Regions from separate parts of the Homo sapiens genome. Here regions 2, 3 and 4 are each linked to region 1. The links are contacts of gene promoters, found by promoter capture Hi-C in human tissues and cell types (Jung and others, 2019). All regions are on one chromosome and are shown on one strand. The core of a region is centred on a gene start or on the middle of the fragment in contact, and the rest is flanking DNA. Distances in the headings are between cores, read along the strand shown. Region 1 holds the start of ID4 (inhibitor of DNA binding 4). Region 2 has its middle 360 kb from the start of LNC-LBCS. Region 3 has its middle 330 kb from the start of LNC-LBCS. Region 4 has its middle 250 kb from the start of LNC-LBCS.

Region 1 (4,133 bases), core at 1,597-4,096:
ATGAATGTTTCATTCTAGGTTCCTACTGAGGTATATTTTGGGAGTCTCGAGCATTTCCATGACAAAAGGATTTGGGTTAGCCCATTTTACTTTTACAAGTGCAAGTGAAACACTTTGATGTAAAAGAGTCACCAACAGACTAAGTTACCTTCTCTGCACAGTAGAAATAACATAGCTTGTAAGGTTTATCCAAAATCTGAGTGATAATTGGGTAAACTGTTTTGAATTATCAGTGCCAGGAATCTTCCATGATTGCAGCTTTGATGTCATGTAAGTGTCTATGTCTAAGAATACAAAAACATACATTGCATAGCCCCTAGTACTCTCTGGTTTCATGGACCAAAACGTGCAGGATTGTATTCCTTATTCCCATAGTATATGGTAGCACTTTAATTTTTTAATGTCTTCATGCCTTCCAACCTTCAAAACAAGGAGCACAGTAACTGCCTCTGCCTACTCTGCTAGCAGGATTTACGGATCACATCTTTCCTGGGTATTCTTGATCTTGTGGCTGAGGTACATTCCTTTGAAACCACCTCTTCCACCCCACCCCACACAGAGTAACTCAGTCTTTCTAACTTTAAGCCAGTCACACAGAGCATCTCCAACAAAACCTGAAACTTAGGCATTTGGCGCTTGTCACACCCAAGGCATGGCTTTCTGAGATTTAGCAAATTCCAAAAAGGTCGATATGATTCTTCCTTTGTGTTACGTATTCAAAACTTAAATTTTAATTTTAATCGTTAGGATATGTAAAATGTTTAAATGTAAGTGTGTCCTGGGCATATTAGCATAGTTTTATTTTGCCAAACAGAGGAAAGTCTTGGGTTTTGAATTTGGAAGCAAATTTTAAACTCTAGGAAAGAGAAAGATCAATGGAACAAAACATCTGTACATATATCCATTTATTATTATCGTCTGTGCTCATATGACTGGCTCCAAGATAATAGCTTACAACCAGTAGTGCTGGCTTCACCGACTTCCCATTTAAAATTACAACATTTTCTCTGTATTTGCATTAATTTAATGATGTATATGACTATGCCTGTCTTTAGAAGAAAGCCCTTCTGAGTTTCATAATTCTGATTTTCTCGATTAATGTGTATGTAGACCATCTACGTATGCACATAAATAAATGAGAATGGCACTTGTTTCCAAACAATTATTAGAAGCAGTAACATACAAGGATTAGGGGAGAGGAGGGTTATTGCATCTACCTGTGAAACCAGAATTAAATAGTTGCTCCTCATTTCATCAGGAGAAAGGAATGTGCTCTGGGGAATAGTGCGATAGTCATAAAGCACTGACATAGCTAAACAAAATATCTGCCTGGTGCAGGTATTTCAGTTCTGGGAATGGATGTAGAAAAAGTCCATATAGGGGTAGACAGGAAGAAATGAGGTCCATGTCTCTTTCTTTCAATTATCTATGAAAATGAAGACACCAATCCATGTCATGTACACGAATGAAGAAAATTCTTGGGTTAATTCATCTCCAAGCGTGTCTAAAGGTGGGAGGGTTTGTAGAGTGAAGGCACTCAAAATTCATTTCCCCATTGTCTGAGAATTTTTATGCACCTTTCTCATCTGAAGGGCTCAATTTTTTCTTGAAGGGTACACACAATGCTCCACCAAAGCTCATTGTGCAATTTTATTTTGAACCCTTGAAGGACAGCTTTTCTCTAAGAAATCTAACACAAAAACGCCCTTAATTAACAGGCTTTTTTTTGCAGGGTGGGGCCCAAGCGGGATCCCAGAGACTGGAAGTGTGAATTTTAATGCTTTGCTGTCAAAGGAGGCGACTCTGGACATTCTCATCACCTTATTTAAAGCGGGGTACGCTGACTAATACGTGAAGCTGTGCATTAATGGCCTAAATTAAGTTACAGGTATGAATTTTACATAAAACAGATTAATATTATATGTCATAATGGAATTTTAAATATTCCGTGTCCATGCATTTTTAATCTTTACGTGCTCTAATTGAATGCGCAAGGCAACTGCATTTCTTGAGCCCACTTTTGCATTTAGATGGGGTAAAAGAACCCCCCCCACGTTTTTGTTTTATTTATATTCCCTTCACCAAAAACCTGCATTCGATTCGGCATTCTTTTCCTTCTTTTTTTTTCTACTTTTGCTAAGCTTTAGCATTTTTTAAAAAGAAAACGGAAAGGCTACACATTCCATTCCATCATTATGGTTTCGGCAAATGTGAAAAGGCGAATAATGAAACGGAGGAGGGAAATATAGAACAGAATGAACGTGCCTTCTTGAACAGCGCGTCTTTCTTAAGGCACTGGAATCCCACGGATGGAGTGATGGGTGGCGGAGGGTCCCTGGGCGCCGTGCTATTAGGAGTGGCAGGGTATCCGCGAGCAGGGCCCAGGCGCTCCCTCAGCAGCCTAGTCGGGATAAGGGGGGCGGTGGAGAGTGAATTCCGGCCGCACATTCCCGCAGTTCTTCGCAGGAACTTCGCTCTCTCTTTTCCCCTCCCTTGGGCACACATCAGCCTGGCCCGACTCCCACTCAGCTCTCTTTTCTCAGAACCCCGACCCACAGCGTTGACGGAATGGAGTGCCCTTCCCATTGGCCCGAGCGTCATTCCCCGAGGTGGCACTGCCCGCCTGATTGGCTGGCCACTCCAGACCCCCCGCCCACTCCTCCACTCGGGTAGCCGGACTCCCCGCCCCCCAGCACCGCCCGGAGCCCCCGCCCTCGCCTCTCCCTCCGCGCCCCCGCCCGCGCGCCCAGCGGGCTCCGCTCGGCTCGCGCTGCGACCCGGCCCGCGCGCTGGTCCCGCCCCCGGGGCGCACGGCTCTATAAATACAGCTGCGCGGCGGGCCGGGCGAGAGCGTAGTGGAGGAGGCGCGGTTGTGAGTAGTACCGGGAGTGGGGTGATCCCGGGCTAGGGGAGCGCGGCGGCCGCGATCGGGCTTAGTCGGAGCTCCGAAGGGAGTGACTAGGACACCCGGGTGGGCTACTTTTCTTCCGGTGCTTTTGCTTTTTTTTTCCTTTGGGCTCGGGCTGAGTGTCGCCCACTGAGCAAAGATTCCCTCGTAAAACCCAGAGCGACCCTCCCGTCAATTGTTGGGCTCGGGAGTGTCGCGGTGCCCCGAGCGCGCCGGGCGCGGAGGCAAAGGGAGCGGAGCCGGCCGCGGACGGGGCCCGGAGCTTGCCTGCCTCCCTCGCTCGCCCCAGCGGGTTCGCTCGCGTAGAGCGCAGGGCGCGCGCGATGAAGGCGGTGAGCCCGGTGCGCCCCTCGGGCCGCAAGGCGCCGTCGGGCTGCGGCGGCGGGGAGCTGGCGCTGCGCTGCCTGGCCGAGCACGGCCACAGCCTGGGTGGCTCCGCAGCCGCGGCGGCGGCGGCGGCGGCAGCGCGCTGTAAGGCGGCCGAGGCGGCGGCCGACGAGCCGGCGCTGTGCCTGCAGTGCGATATGAACGACTGCTATAGCCGCCTGCGGAGGCTGGTGCCCACCATCCCGCCCAACAAGAAAGTCAGCAAAGTGGAGATCCTGCAGCACGTTATCGACTACATCCTGGACCTGCAGCTGGCGCTGGAGACGCACCCGGCCCTGCTGAGGCAGCCACCACCGCCCGCGCCGCCACACCACCCGGCCGGGACCTGTCCAGCCGCGCCGCCGCGGACCCCGCTCACTGCGCTCAACACCGACCCGGTGAGAGGCCGGGCGCCGGCCGTGGGCGGACGCCGCGGGGGATGGGAGGTTGGTGGCGTGGTGGCGGGACGCGGGCGCTCACCGTCCTCCGGGCAGGGGCGGGCCAGGAATGACAGCCCCCTCCCCCTGCTCCTCCGGGCTCCCCCGGGCCGCCAGCAGCCGGCCGGGCTCGGCGAGCGCGGGTCCGGGAGAACGCGCAGGGCGGGACTCGGGGCTGTGGGCGCCCTGGGCTGTCAAGTCCCGCCTGAGCCCGGAGGGGCCCCCCCGGCTACAGGCTGGGGTGGGGGCGTCGGCGCGCCAGCCTGATTTCCGAGGACAATCCAGGACCGTGTCGAGCGCGTTGTTTGCGCCTGCTAACCTTTCCCTTGGTGTTCGGTTGCTGTTCCAGGCCGGCGCGGTGAACAAGCAGGGCGACAGCATTCTGTGCCGCTGAGCCGCGCTGTCCAGGTGAGCGCGCATTT
Region 2 (4,133 bases), core at 1,118-3,617, 390 kb before region 1:
AATCAATAAATAGTAAACTTACCTCCAATCCACTCTAGTTTGGTGACCTATTAAACTCAAAAAGACCAATACAGGAACGCTCTCTATGCAGGTATGTTCTGAGATTGTGTGTGTGTGTGTGTGTCTGTGCACGTGTGATGTGACACACATACATATACCAGCTTCTGCAGAGATCCCAGACCCTGCCTTTATGCAGAAGGCATGGTTAGAATGGGGATTTGCCAAACACACTTTCTTCTGCTTCCTGGTTGTGTGATCATCACTCTGGCCATGTTTCCCTCTCATTCTGCCATGGAGCGTATAAGAGCCCAGATTGGCAAAGACAGAACCAGCACTTGCCCATAATAATTTGGGAAATTCTGTGGCCTCATTCAGAAACCTTCAAACATTCATGGGTTTTGGTAGCCCAGAGGGCGGAGTATAGGAAGGGGCCAAGATTTCTCTGTTTTCCCTGGAAACATGGATGTCTAAATATCAGAAATGGCAATACTGTCTTAATAATACCTCCTGTTCATGGACAAATTCTGTAAATTTTTATTTGTCAGGATAAGTACAGTCTATGAATAATTAATTATTATGCAGTTATTCTTTCCTGTTTTTTTTTTTTTTTTTTCTTTTTCCTTTTCTTCTAACCTAACACTCTCCGCCAGGGAAATCAATCACACTAAACATTTACTAACAGGATCTCCCACTTTGGCTACACATTGGGATCACCTAGAGAGCTTGTTAATATACTGGTAGTTGGGTCCTACTCCTGGAAGTTTTACTTTGATTGGTCTGGGATGGACCTGGGCATCTGGATTTTTTTATATCACCAAGGACCTTTTCTTTAACTTTTATTTTAGGTTCAGGGGTCCAAGTGCAAATTTGAAATACAGGGAAATTGCATGTCACAGGGGTTTGGTGTACAGATTTTATTTTGTCACCCCCTGGTAATAAGCATAATCCCCAATAACCAAGGAGGTGAAAGGCCTCTACAAGGATATTTACAAAACACTATTCAAAGGAATTAAAGATGGCAGGTAGTTTTTCGATCCTTACCCTCCTCCCATGTTCCACCCTCAAGTAGGCCCCAGTGGATGTAGTTCCCTTCTTTGTGTCTATGTGTACTCAAATTTTAGCTCCCACTTATAAGTGAGAACATGCAGTATTTGGTTTTCCGTTCCTGTATTAGTTTGCTTAGGATAATGGCCTCCAGCTCCATCCATGTTGCTGCCAAGGACATGATCTCATTCTTTTTTATGGCTGCATAGTATTCCATGGTATATATGTACCATCTTTTTAAAATCCAGTCTACCATTGATGGGCATTTAGGTTGATTCCATGTCTTTGCTATTGCGAACAGTGCTGCAATGAACATATGTGTGCATGTGTCTTTTTGTGGTAGAATGATTTACATTCTTTTAGGTATATACTCAACAATGGGATTCCTGGGTCCAATAGTAATTCTGTTTTAAGTTCTTTGAGAAATCAACAAACTGCTTTCTACGACAGCTGAACTTTACATTACCACCAGCAGTGTATAAGCATTCCTTTTTCTCTACAACCTCGCCAGCATCTGTTATTTTAATAATCGCCATTCTGACTGATATGAAATTATTTGTATTTCTCTAATAATTAGTGATCTTGAGCATTCTCAACAAACTAGGCATGAAGGAACATACTTCAAAATAATGAGTCATCTATGACAAACCCACAGCCAACCTCATATTGAATGGAAAAAAGCTGGAAGCATTTACCCTGAAAACCAGCTTGAGGCAAGGATGCCCACTCCTGCCACTCCTATCCAACACAGTACTGGAAATACTAACCAGAGCATTCAGGAAAGAGAAAGAAATAAGGGCATCCAAATAGGAAAAGAGAAAGTCAAACTATCCCTGTTTGCGAACAATATGATTCTATGCCTAGAAAGCCCCATAGTCTCAGCTCCCTGATCCGATAAACAACTTCAGCAAAGTTTTAGGATATAAAATCCAGGTACGAAAATCACTAGCATTCCTATACACCAACGTCCAAGCTGACAGCCAAATCAATAATGCAATCCCACTCACAATAACCACAAAAAGAATAAAATACCTAGGAATATAGCTATCCAAGGAGGTGAAAGACCTCTACGACAAGAATTATAAAATACTGCTCAAAGGAATCAGAAATGGCACAAACAAATGCAAAAATATTCCATGCTCACAGATAGGAAGAATCAATATTATTAAAGTGGCCATACTGCCCAAAGCAGTTTACAAATTCAATGCTATTTCTATAAACTATCAATGACATCCTCCAGATAATTAGAAAAAAACTATTTTAAAATTCCAATGGAACAAAAAAAAAAAGAGCCCAAAAGCCAAGCCAATCCTAAGCAAAAAGAACAGAGCTGGAGGCATCACATTATCCCACATCGAACTATACTACAAGACTACAGTCACCAAAACAGCATGGTACTGGTACAAAAACAGACTCATAGACCAATAAAATAGAATAGAGAGTCCAGAAACAAAGCCATACACCTACAGCCATCTGATCTTCAACAAAATTAACAAAAATAAACAATGAGGAAAGACTCCCTATTCAAAAAATGGTTCTGGGATAACTGGCTAGCCATACGCAGAAGACTGAAACTGGATTTCTTTCTTACACCATATACAGAAATCAACTCAAGATGGATTAAAGACTTAAATGTAAAATCTAAAAACTATATTAAAAAAACCCTGAAAGACAACCATTCTGGACATAAGACCTGGCAAAGATTTTATGATGAAGATGCCAAAGCAATTGCAACAAAAATTGACAAATGGGATCTAACTAAATTATAGAGCTTCTGCACAGCAAAGAGTAAACAGACAACCTAAACACAGGAGAAAATATTTGCAAACTATGCATCCAACAAAGGTTTAGTGTCCAGAAGGAACTTAAATTTACAAGCAAAAAAAAATTATTAAAAAGTGGGCAGGAGACATGAACAGACATTTTTCAAAAGAAACATGTATGTGGCCAACAGCATATTTAAGAAAGCACCTGAATTTTAAAAAGCTTTCTAAGTAATTCTACTGCAAAGCCAAGATTGAGAATCACTGTGCTACAGAGAAAATATTCTGTCTGGGAGTGCAACAAGTTTTTTTTTTTTTTTAAGTGAGTAAATCAACATGATCCTGCATTCTATTTCTGAAAAAAAAAAAAAAAAAAAGACACCTATTGCTCTAGGGGTAAATGATGGCCTAGTCACCTTAATTTAGAATTTGCAGCTTTGTTCACTGTTTTACAGTCTCCATGTTATTAATTTTCTGTTTCATAAACCTGACAAACATAATTGTTAATTACATACCTTACACTCCACCCTCACAGCAATGGTTTCTCTCAGAACCCTCATCTGATATAAAGCTATAGTACAATGCCCCACTATATTAAATTTCAATTTAATTATCTTTATTACAGCATCACCTCCTTGGAGGAAATTATTAACTCTGAGATGAGCTTATAATAACAGAGAAAGGTAATGCAGGGAGCCTTGCCCTAAAGCCTTGTGCTATATATAGGCTACAGTTACAGGCTCAAGAGCAACAATAAAATGGTTGAAAAAGAAGCTACTCTGCCATATCCTCGGCTCCCTGTGATGTGATCCCTCAAAGGTCCCTAGTGGCACACACAAAGCGAATGGCATGAGAAATAGGTCACACACACACACACACACACACACACACACACACAAATGCACAAGTCATTTGTGTGTGTGTGCGTGCACACTTTAGTTGAAAGCAGAGAATAATTCGCAAATAATTAGCCCAGGTGAGACCAGGAAGCTGTCCATGGACAGTACACATTCATTACACCATAGTTAATCTTTTAAGAGTTAAACTTTACTTAGCACCATGTACTTTAAAAAAAAAAAAAGCTTAGGGTGTTTTGCCTTAAAACATTACTTGAAGTGACTTTCAATGACTCTCTTTAAACTTGGTTTGAAAATTAAAAGAGCTAGAAGCCAGCAAGCTTCCCAAAAGTAATTAAGTCCCTAAATTAACACTAAGGGGCTTGAATCCCATGCAACTATGGTATTAGGTGACTGAGAAAAAATGAACTAGAAAATGGGATCACAGAGCTTTGAGACTGTGTTATTGAAGCAAAATAATAAAATAAAC
Region 3 (4,133 bases), core at 681-3,180, 370 kb before region 1:
GCAAATCCTTCTCTGTAGAGGTCAAATTTACCTTTTCTGGGTACTCATGAATTGTAGGTTTTTAAAAGCCCATTAGCAAGCACTGAGATCTGTCGTCTCAAGTTTTCTATTTGAAACCAATATATGTGGCAAAAATATGTTCCAATTTTTATTTTTAGTAACAATGAAGAAGATAATTTGGTAGTTAGAATGTGTGTGGATGTGCATTAATATCATTACCGCACTTTTGACTTTCCAAATGTGCCCTGTTTTTAATTGAAATAAAACCACTATCAGACACTTCGGAAATCATTTTAGAATAATTTTGAAGACATTTGTTCATAGAAAAAAATGAGTCTTACTATCATATGATTTAAGTATTTAAAAACAAAGTCTAGTAACTTTTAAGGAAATTAAGTAATTTTAGCTTCGAGAGCATCTTTCTCCAAAAGCTAGTTATCTGGGAAATAAAATTGCATAAACCACCATTCTGGATACTTCTTTTGCATGCTTAATTGACTGAAGGATGTAAGATTTTCCCTAAAAAATATGTATATTTACCTTGAATTATCATTTGATGCCTCTTACTCCAGACCTCTCTCTTTTTGAGCATCTGGTCTGTGGTCCTTGGTCTCAATTTTGTTTCTGGATTCTCTGTAGAGACCTGTCACTCAGATTTTCATAGTAAACATACTAATACCTTTTTTTCTCTTTATGAATTATATTTTATAAAAATCTTAAATTTTCTCAAATTTGTCTACCACCCTTCCCTTTTCTTTACCAAGATAGAAAATATGATGAATCCATAGAAACAACATCCACATTAATTATAAATTTATTATTTTCCTCCTTCTCAGGTGAAAAGACAGGCACACAGAAAAGCACCCTTTTAACCTTTACTGCATGCACGACGAGGGTCAAATGCAGAGAGACTATGTACACACATCCAAGGCAAAGGGAGGGAGAGTGAGAGGGAGATAGAGACAGAGACAGAGAGACGGGGGGGAGAGAGAGAGAGAAAAGAGAGAAAGAGAATGAGAACAATGAAGAAAAAGAATGTAGCATACCTACGAACACTAAACCAGAAGTGAAAAAATATGCCATTTAAGAGTGTAAACTCTGAGGTCTGAAGTCCAAAAGAAGGAAGTCCAAGGGGCTTTGACGGTCAGTGAGATCATATCTGTGCTATTACTGAGGGTCCACCTCTAATCAGTTTACGAATGTTTTTCTTTCTCCTGCCTACTCCTGCCCATTCACACACACACACACACACTCTCCCACAGACACACACAGACTCACACATACACACAAATTCACACATACACACACTCACACAGAGATGCATACAGTCACACATATGCACACATTGACAATCACACATATATACGCATACACTCACACATACACACCCTGGCACACACATTTGCACGCTCACAATGCACATTCACACACTAACACATACACACACACATACACAGACACACACACATACACGTTCACACACATACACACATATACACATTCACAGTCACACGTACATACACAAACATACCCCGACTCACACATACACACACATTTGCATGCTCACACATATATACACGTTCACATACACATTCACATATACACAGACTCACACATCCACACACTCCCACACACATACATGCATACACACATTCACACATATGCACATTTACACACACATACACACTCACACATTCGATTCACTCACACACATACATGCATACACACACTCATACATACACACACTCACAAACAGAGGTGACCATTTCAGAGGAGCAGAGTGCACCCCCTGCGCCTGGCCCACTTCTCCCAAGATAGAGAACAATTTGGCATGAGGAAACATTTAGGTCTAAGAGTCTCCTGCTTTGAGAAAATCTATTTTACAAAAATACAACCACACAGCACATATACATGGGAGTATCTGATGACTTCACCCAAGAATCCTTCATATTTTAGAAGGATCTGCCGCAAGATTTTTCTAAGTAGCAAATATCATTAAATCATTTATTTAAAATAACATATAATTTATAAATAAATGTTACAAAAGCAATTCCAACATCATAAATTCAGGCATGGCTCTCCAGATTTTGGAGGTACCTTCACTTTTGAACCATATTTCTTTGTAATTTTATACAAAACTATGAAAAAATAACTCCCATGGGAGTCACACATAGCCTTATAAAGATTCTCAAATGTCGGTTCTGGATAAGTACTTTGGCTCTAATCTGTTATATTTCTCTTCCACTTTCAGCTAGTGTAAAGTTATAAAAGTTTACTCTAAAAACTAAAATAGTTAATAGAGAAAATTTCAAGGAACTTTCATAAGGAACGGCATACATATCTCTACAATAAACCCCTTAATGAATAACGTTATCAGAGTTATTTAGGCTAAAATTAATTAACCTAAATTTTCAAATTGAATCCCAAAAACTGTGGATGCTGCCTTTCGTGTTGGCATGCAAAATTAAGCCTGCATCTGTTTCCATTCAAAAGTTCCATCAATGGGCACTTTCAATTGGCTTGCTCCATAAGTAATTCAGAAGGTGGAACAGCAAAAAGATAAGAGGGTTCATTAAGTGATTAAAGTCACTGGAATTGATAATTTTTTTATATCAAAAGATTTCACAAAGAAAATGCGACTGTAGGGAAGTTTGGATTAATTTTTTTTTTTTTAACCTTGGGGGAAAGGGAGAGAGTACAATTAAATTAAGGGAGGTTCACGAATAGTGTGGAAAGTCAAGATTCTAATTTACATGAAGCTCTTCAGGGCCTCATAGGGGTCATAATAAACATGATTTGGGGGATAATCATTTGACTTGAGTTGACCAGAATTAACTTGCTAGAATAAAGGGAGACTGAGGCTTTCCCAGCTTCCGCTTGGGTGGGGAGCTTGTACCATTATTTGAATGAGTTATGCATAGCCTGAGAGTGCTTTTTGAATTTGACAAAAGGCATCTTCACACAAGTGCCCACCCAGTCAACTTTTCCATGCTTCCAAAGTCTTATAATCACTAGTGAAAGAGAACGCTTCTGCACCAGCACTGCAAGGGATGAGGACAGCACGTGTTCAGGGGAGAGAAGTAGTCAGTGGCTCCTGCACCAAGAGGCAAAGGACAAACATGCACCTCAGCATCTCAATCTTCACCAAACCATGAGAAAATTCTCAGTGCCTCAGAGCTTCCACTTTCTTTTCTTAAAGAAGGCTATCGCTTTACAGATATTTCCTAATGTATTTCTAGGAACCCTTCAGGGGGGTCTATGAGTCATGCATCAGACCTGTCTTTTGCACACATCTGTGGTTGGCCAAGTCAGGGCTCTGCTGCCTTAGAATGCAAGAGTTTCCCAAGGAACCTGGGCTGCACTAGAATTCTTCCCTCACTGCCTGAGGCATTGTCATGACCTTTGAGTAAGTGAAGAGAGACTAGAACGTTATTACCTCTGTATGCGATGAACCTCACCTCATAATACACTCCATGGCCATGGTGAGTCAGAACACCACTGCAGCTTGGCGCTAGTGAGCTTAATGATACAGGTCCATATCACTACTTTTGTAAAATAAGAAGTACATTTCCTCCATTGCAATTAGGAATTAGGATAAGGGAACCAGAAAACACTGGTTTGGGGGCTCAAGCTCCCAAACTTTACAGAAAACTTACTAATAAAATAATTTTGTCCATAGGGTGTAAAATGCTGTTAGAATGGCTGATCCAGAAAAATTTTATTTTTCAGTTGCGACACTGTACCTACTACTATCACTTTCCTCCATTTGGAGAGGGATGGGATGAGATATATATATATTTTTTTTTTTTTCCATATTTCCATCCCTGGGGATAAACTCAGTAGGCTAGAGTATAGAAATAATATTCAATATTTACATTGATATACATTTTTAAAAAATAATATCAACCACACAGAAATTATATGAAAGGAGTTTGGGCAGAGAAGTGACACAATAGACACAATTTGATTCAGGCTTTGTTTTTAGTCCAGCCCTGCAGTTCCCAAACTGTGCGCTGAGGGCGCCCTGGTGCTGCGGTGATTCATATGGGCACTGCAGGATGGACTACATTTTAGAGGAAAACATAGTGACATTTGTCAAATACCACATGAGCTATTATTACCACGACTTTTCT
Region 4 (4,133 bases), core at 915-3,414, 290 kb before region 1:
CAGGACAGTTCAGGAAGCTTTTAAATCTGTGCATTAGATGATAGAGAATCCTGTTTTTTGTTTGTTTTTGTTTGATCTTAGTTTTAGTTTTTAATGTGTTGCACTTTTAGGAGACTTAAAAACTAGAAGTTAACATGGCTAACTGGGCACATGAGCCATTTGGCTGTCACCCTTCATGCTTAAATGCAAATCATTGTAGGAATCGCTCTTCTCTGGAATCTGAAATACAGTCATTCGGAGAATTCCAAATAGTGGGGCATGATTTTTCAAAAATATGCTTTTAAGAAAACAGAGTTGACATTTCTTTGCTACAGGAGGAAAGGAGAGAAAAAGAGAAATTCTGCTCTAATTTTGGCCACAGGATGTGCACAGGGGTGTGTGCATCTCTTTATGGGGTGAAGGAGAGCATTAGTAAAGGGTTAGGCAGGCATGCAGACTGTAGAGAAGGCAGACTGTAGAGAAGGCAACTCATGGAGGCTTTTTCTGTTTCTGTGCATTCTGCCCAGCCTTCATTGCCTATGGCTGCTCTTTTTATGAAAATTGGCGCATATTTAACTGCTATAGCTGTTGGCATCTAGGCTTAGTTTTACCCACAGAGGAGGCATTCATTCACGTTTTAGCTATCATTTCCATTAAAGCTTGCAAGTACAAATGGTACCCAATCTAAATGGGTAAGGCATGACCAAATAAATATATCCCCTGAATACCCTAAACATGGGGTATCTAGAAACACAGTGGTGGTACTTATTGAAAGTGACATTAACTACAAACTTAAAATTTTCCTTCCTAAGTATATAGAAAAGCCAAATAATCTTGGGCAGAAGGTAGGGTGTAGGAATTCCATTAAGATATTACATGGAAAAAAAAAGCTTTAGTCCCATTTTGTCTATTTCAAGCTCCATTTTATTCATATTGTAACTTAGAGAATCATTCAGTGAAATAGAGTGGGAGGAAGAATATGGTCTACATTTCCTTGGAACTTTAGATACATTTTTCTTTCCTGTTTTATCTGTGCATGCAGGCGACATCTCCTTAATGAGAGTCTTCAAACTTCTTTGCCTTTTAGAAGTATCTCTGCTGTGCCCTGGGACACCAGTCACTGATTTTAGCTTTTAAATATGCTCATGATATAAAGTAATTTTTTCCTTAGTGCTATTCATTGTTTTACCTGTCTCAATGGGAATTATGAGTTTGATTAATGGGCAGAAAGATTTGGCCCTTGTTAGAGTCCTTATCTCTATTCCTCCCTGCTGCATGCTGCTTCCGACAGTCTCTGAATGCTCAAGAATAATATCTGCAAGTGAAGATTAAAATAAGAGTAAAAATAAAAGTTTATCCATGGATTGTTTATCCATGGTCCTGGCATTAGTGGTGACTGTTTATATTAAAAGAATTCATAAATACATGCATACATTCAGTCATACATTCATGTATTCATTCAACAAACAACAGGCATTGTGCTTGGCACTGAGAAGAGTCTGGAGTGATTTTAGGTTCTACCAAATTAAAACAAGACAGTGGCCATTGAGCTTCACATTATATGATAATGAAAATGGATATGGGAAGGGAAGTAAGCATGGAAGGTCCTATTTGTTCTGTTTTAATTTGGTCGCTAGCTACGTATACTTAATCAAGTAGATAATCAGGAAACACCTGTGTTCAGTGAATTAATAAAAATGTATGACACATACTTCTGATGAAACAAATGACCAATCTTGGAATCCACAGGTGCTACAAAAATAACCACAAATAACCAGGCAACTAGTCCCATCATCACTGGGAGTGCATGCTTTGAGTCAAACATGGATATTTATCACTCGAGTAGCTCTTAAAGGTGAAGTAATGCTTGTGGGTTTACTCATGAGCTCAAGGAATAAGGATTACTTAAAAACACTAAGTATTTAGGTGTGGGAAGTAAAATTAAAACACAAGATTTCAGTGAGAACTTCGACTTGATTTATCTAATGAAGAGAAATGTGCTATTTGGGCAGGTCTACACCTTCATGTGCATGTATGAAACCAGACAAGTTTGAGAATTTCTTTTGTCTTCGGAGTAATCAAGTAAAATAATATTCTATCACTAGAATGGCACTAATACTAACTCTTTGGAAAACAGTGTATTTTTTCTCCACTTGGGCAAAATATGAGTAAGTTAACTAAAATAAGCTGGAAAATATTCCTGACTCGTTCAAATGCAATCTGTGAGCTCCAAAAATAAATAAAGATTGCTCCTAAGAAGTCTAGAACATGATAGGATGCAAAGCAGTGGTAACAGATTAAGTACTCTGATGCTTCCAAACATCTGAATCAGCCTGTTCTGCCTGGTTAACATGAAAATAAGATGTGAGCAAAGATCTTAAATTGTAACTTTTCTCACAGGTCCTCAGATTGGAAATTTTAAAAATACAGTCGATGAAATTTAAGTACTGATCCTTGGCATGTGTGGGAGAGGGTCATTTACAAATGAAACATTTACAAATTAATATTTCATACTTGCTGATGGACGTCAGATGCACTTAATAGCACTGCTATTAAAGGAATAAAGATTATGCTTAATTATAAAATAAATATGTTCTGCTTAATCATACACATGCATAGGTACATACACATACAAAAGACTCATGCACATGCTGTCTCTCTCTCTCTCCTCCCAGCCCCTCACCAACGTCTTATCTAATCCTTAATAAAGAGGAATTCAAGCCCAAATGACAGTAGGTATAAAATTGATTACAAAGCAAAATTTTCAGGTGATGCAGGCTGGGAAGATGTAAATGTTTCGCAGGAATTATGATGTCACTTATGTTTCTGCCCAAAGGAGGGCCCCATTTCAGCTCAATCCCAATCAGGAAGTTATTCTTCACATCAAAGGAACATATTTTATACATGGCTGGGTAGAACACAGAGCATTTAGATGCTAGAGAGCTAGAGCAGAAGGGCCTTATATACTGAGATGAGCAAATTTCTGTGATGATAATTTCTTCCTGGAAAAGGATTTTATCACATGGCCCTGGAAGAGGAAAATACCATCTTCAAAATATTCTTAACAACAGACTTTGAGTAGATGCAAAAGCTGAGACTTGCAATTTTGTGGAAATAGTAATAAACTGACCCCAGCTGGAGAGTGAGAGCTCATGTGAACCTATACCAGCCTAGACAGCTGCAGTCAGCTGAACCTCAGCCTACCTCATATCTGTAAGAATAAATGCTTATGTTTTTTTACTTACTGAGATTTTTATGATTATTTGTTATGCAGCAGTAGCTAACTGATACAGAGAGAATAACTATCTTCAAGTATATGAAGACATTTTCTTTCTTTTCTGGAGATGAGAAAATGCTAGAAAAGATTCAGGTTAAAAATAAGAAAGATTAGTATTGTTAGTACCTTTACATGAGAGTTTCAATTGTGGGAAAGATAAATGCTGAAGCCTTAGCGTCTAGAAAGAACAAATGAAATGATCTTTCTTCCTTCATATGTATTGATTTCAGACATGAAGTCACAGATAAGTTTATAAAAATAGAAATGTCATTTGAAACTCTGCCAGTTTCTAAAAATAGATAAGAAATGTGTCCTTTACAATGAGCTACTCTACCACAATACAGAGGGTCAATCTAGTACTTTTGTTAAGACATATGGTTTATCCTGGTCCTCATTAACTTGAATCTAGTTTCTCAGAACAAATATTGTCTTAAGAAATGACAGAGAGGCTGGGCATGGTGGCTCACGCCTGTTATCCCAGCACTTTGGGAGGCCGAGGTGGGCAGATCATTTGAGGTCAGGAGTTTGAGACCAGCCTGGCCAACATAGCAAAAGCCCATCTCTACTAAAGATACAAAAATTAGCTGGGCTTGGCGGCGCACGTCTGTAATCCCAGCTACTGGGGATCGCGCCACTGCACTCCAGCTTGGACGACGGGGAGTGAAACTCCGTCTCAAAAAAGAAAAAAAGAAATTACAGAGAAACATCACAAAACTAAAATAATAAACTTTTCGTTAAACTAAACTTTTAGTTAAATTGAAAGATTTTACTTTTTCAAATTGTTTATTGATGACAACCAAGAATCTCTGGCAAATAAATTTGCTTATATTTGCAAATATAGAGCATATTTGTTAAGGCTTTTTCTAGAGTCAGATAT

The links. Contacts are between HindIII fragments. The study calls those that stand out against the background at their distance.
Region 2: a fragment that was not itself captured here is called in contact with the fragment with the promoter of ID4 in region 1 in 2 of the 25 tissues and cell types used here (H1 embryonic stem cells and aorta).
Region 3: a fragment that was not itself captured here is called in contact with the fragment with the promoter of ID4 in region 1 in 2 of the 25 tissues and cell types used here (IMR-90 fibroblasts and hippocampus).
Region 4: a fragment that was not itself captured here is called in contact with the fragment with the promoter of ID4 in region 1 in 1 of the 25 tissues and cell types used here (IMR-90 fibroblasts).

What each region holds. Positions count from the first base shown.
Region 1 is chr6:19,834,524-19,838,656 of GRCh38, forward strand. It overlaps ID4 (inhibitor of DNA binding 4), which reads left to right and starts at 2,847. Exons shown (of 3, transcript NM_001546.4): 1 at 2,847-3,672; 2 at 4,061-4,119. The coding sequence starts at 3,232. The coding sequence ends at 4,105. The HindIII fragment of the contact is 7,095 bases long and covers 1-4,133 here.
Region 2 is chr6:19,445,059-19,449,191 of GRCh38, forward strand. No RefSeq gene overlaps it. Among named protein-coding and RNA genes, the nearest start is that of LNC-LBCS, 360 kb to the right of the region's middle. The HindIII fragment of the contact is 3,137 bases long and covers 800-3,936 here.
Region 3 is chr6:19,469,020-19,473,152 of GRCh38, forward strand. No RefSeq gene overlaps it. Among named protein-coding and RNA genes, the nearest start is that of LNC-LBCS, 330 kb to the right of the region's middle. The HindIII fragment of the contact is 8,131 bases long and covers 1-4,133 here.
Region 4 is chr6:19,550,050-19,554,182 of GRCh38, forward strand. No RefSeq gene overlaps it. Among named protein-coding and RNA genes, the nearest start is that of LNC-LBCS, 250 kb to the right of the region's middle. The HindIII fragment of the contact is 5,357 bases long and covers 1-4,133 here.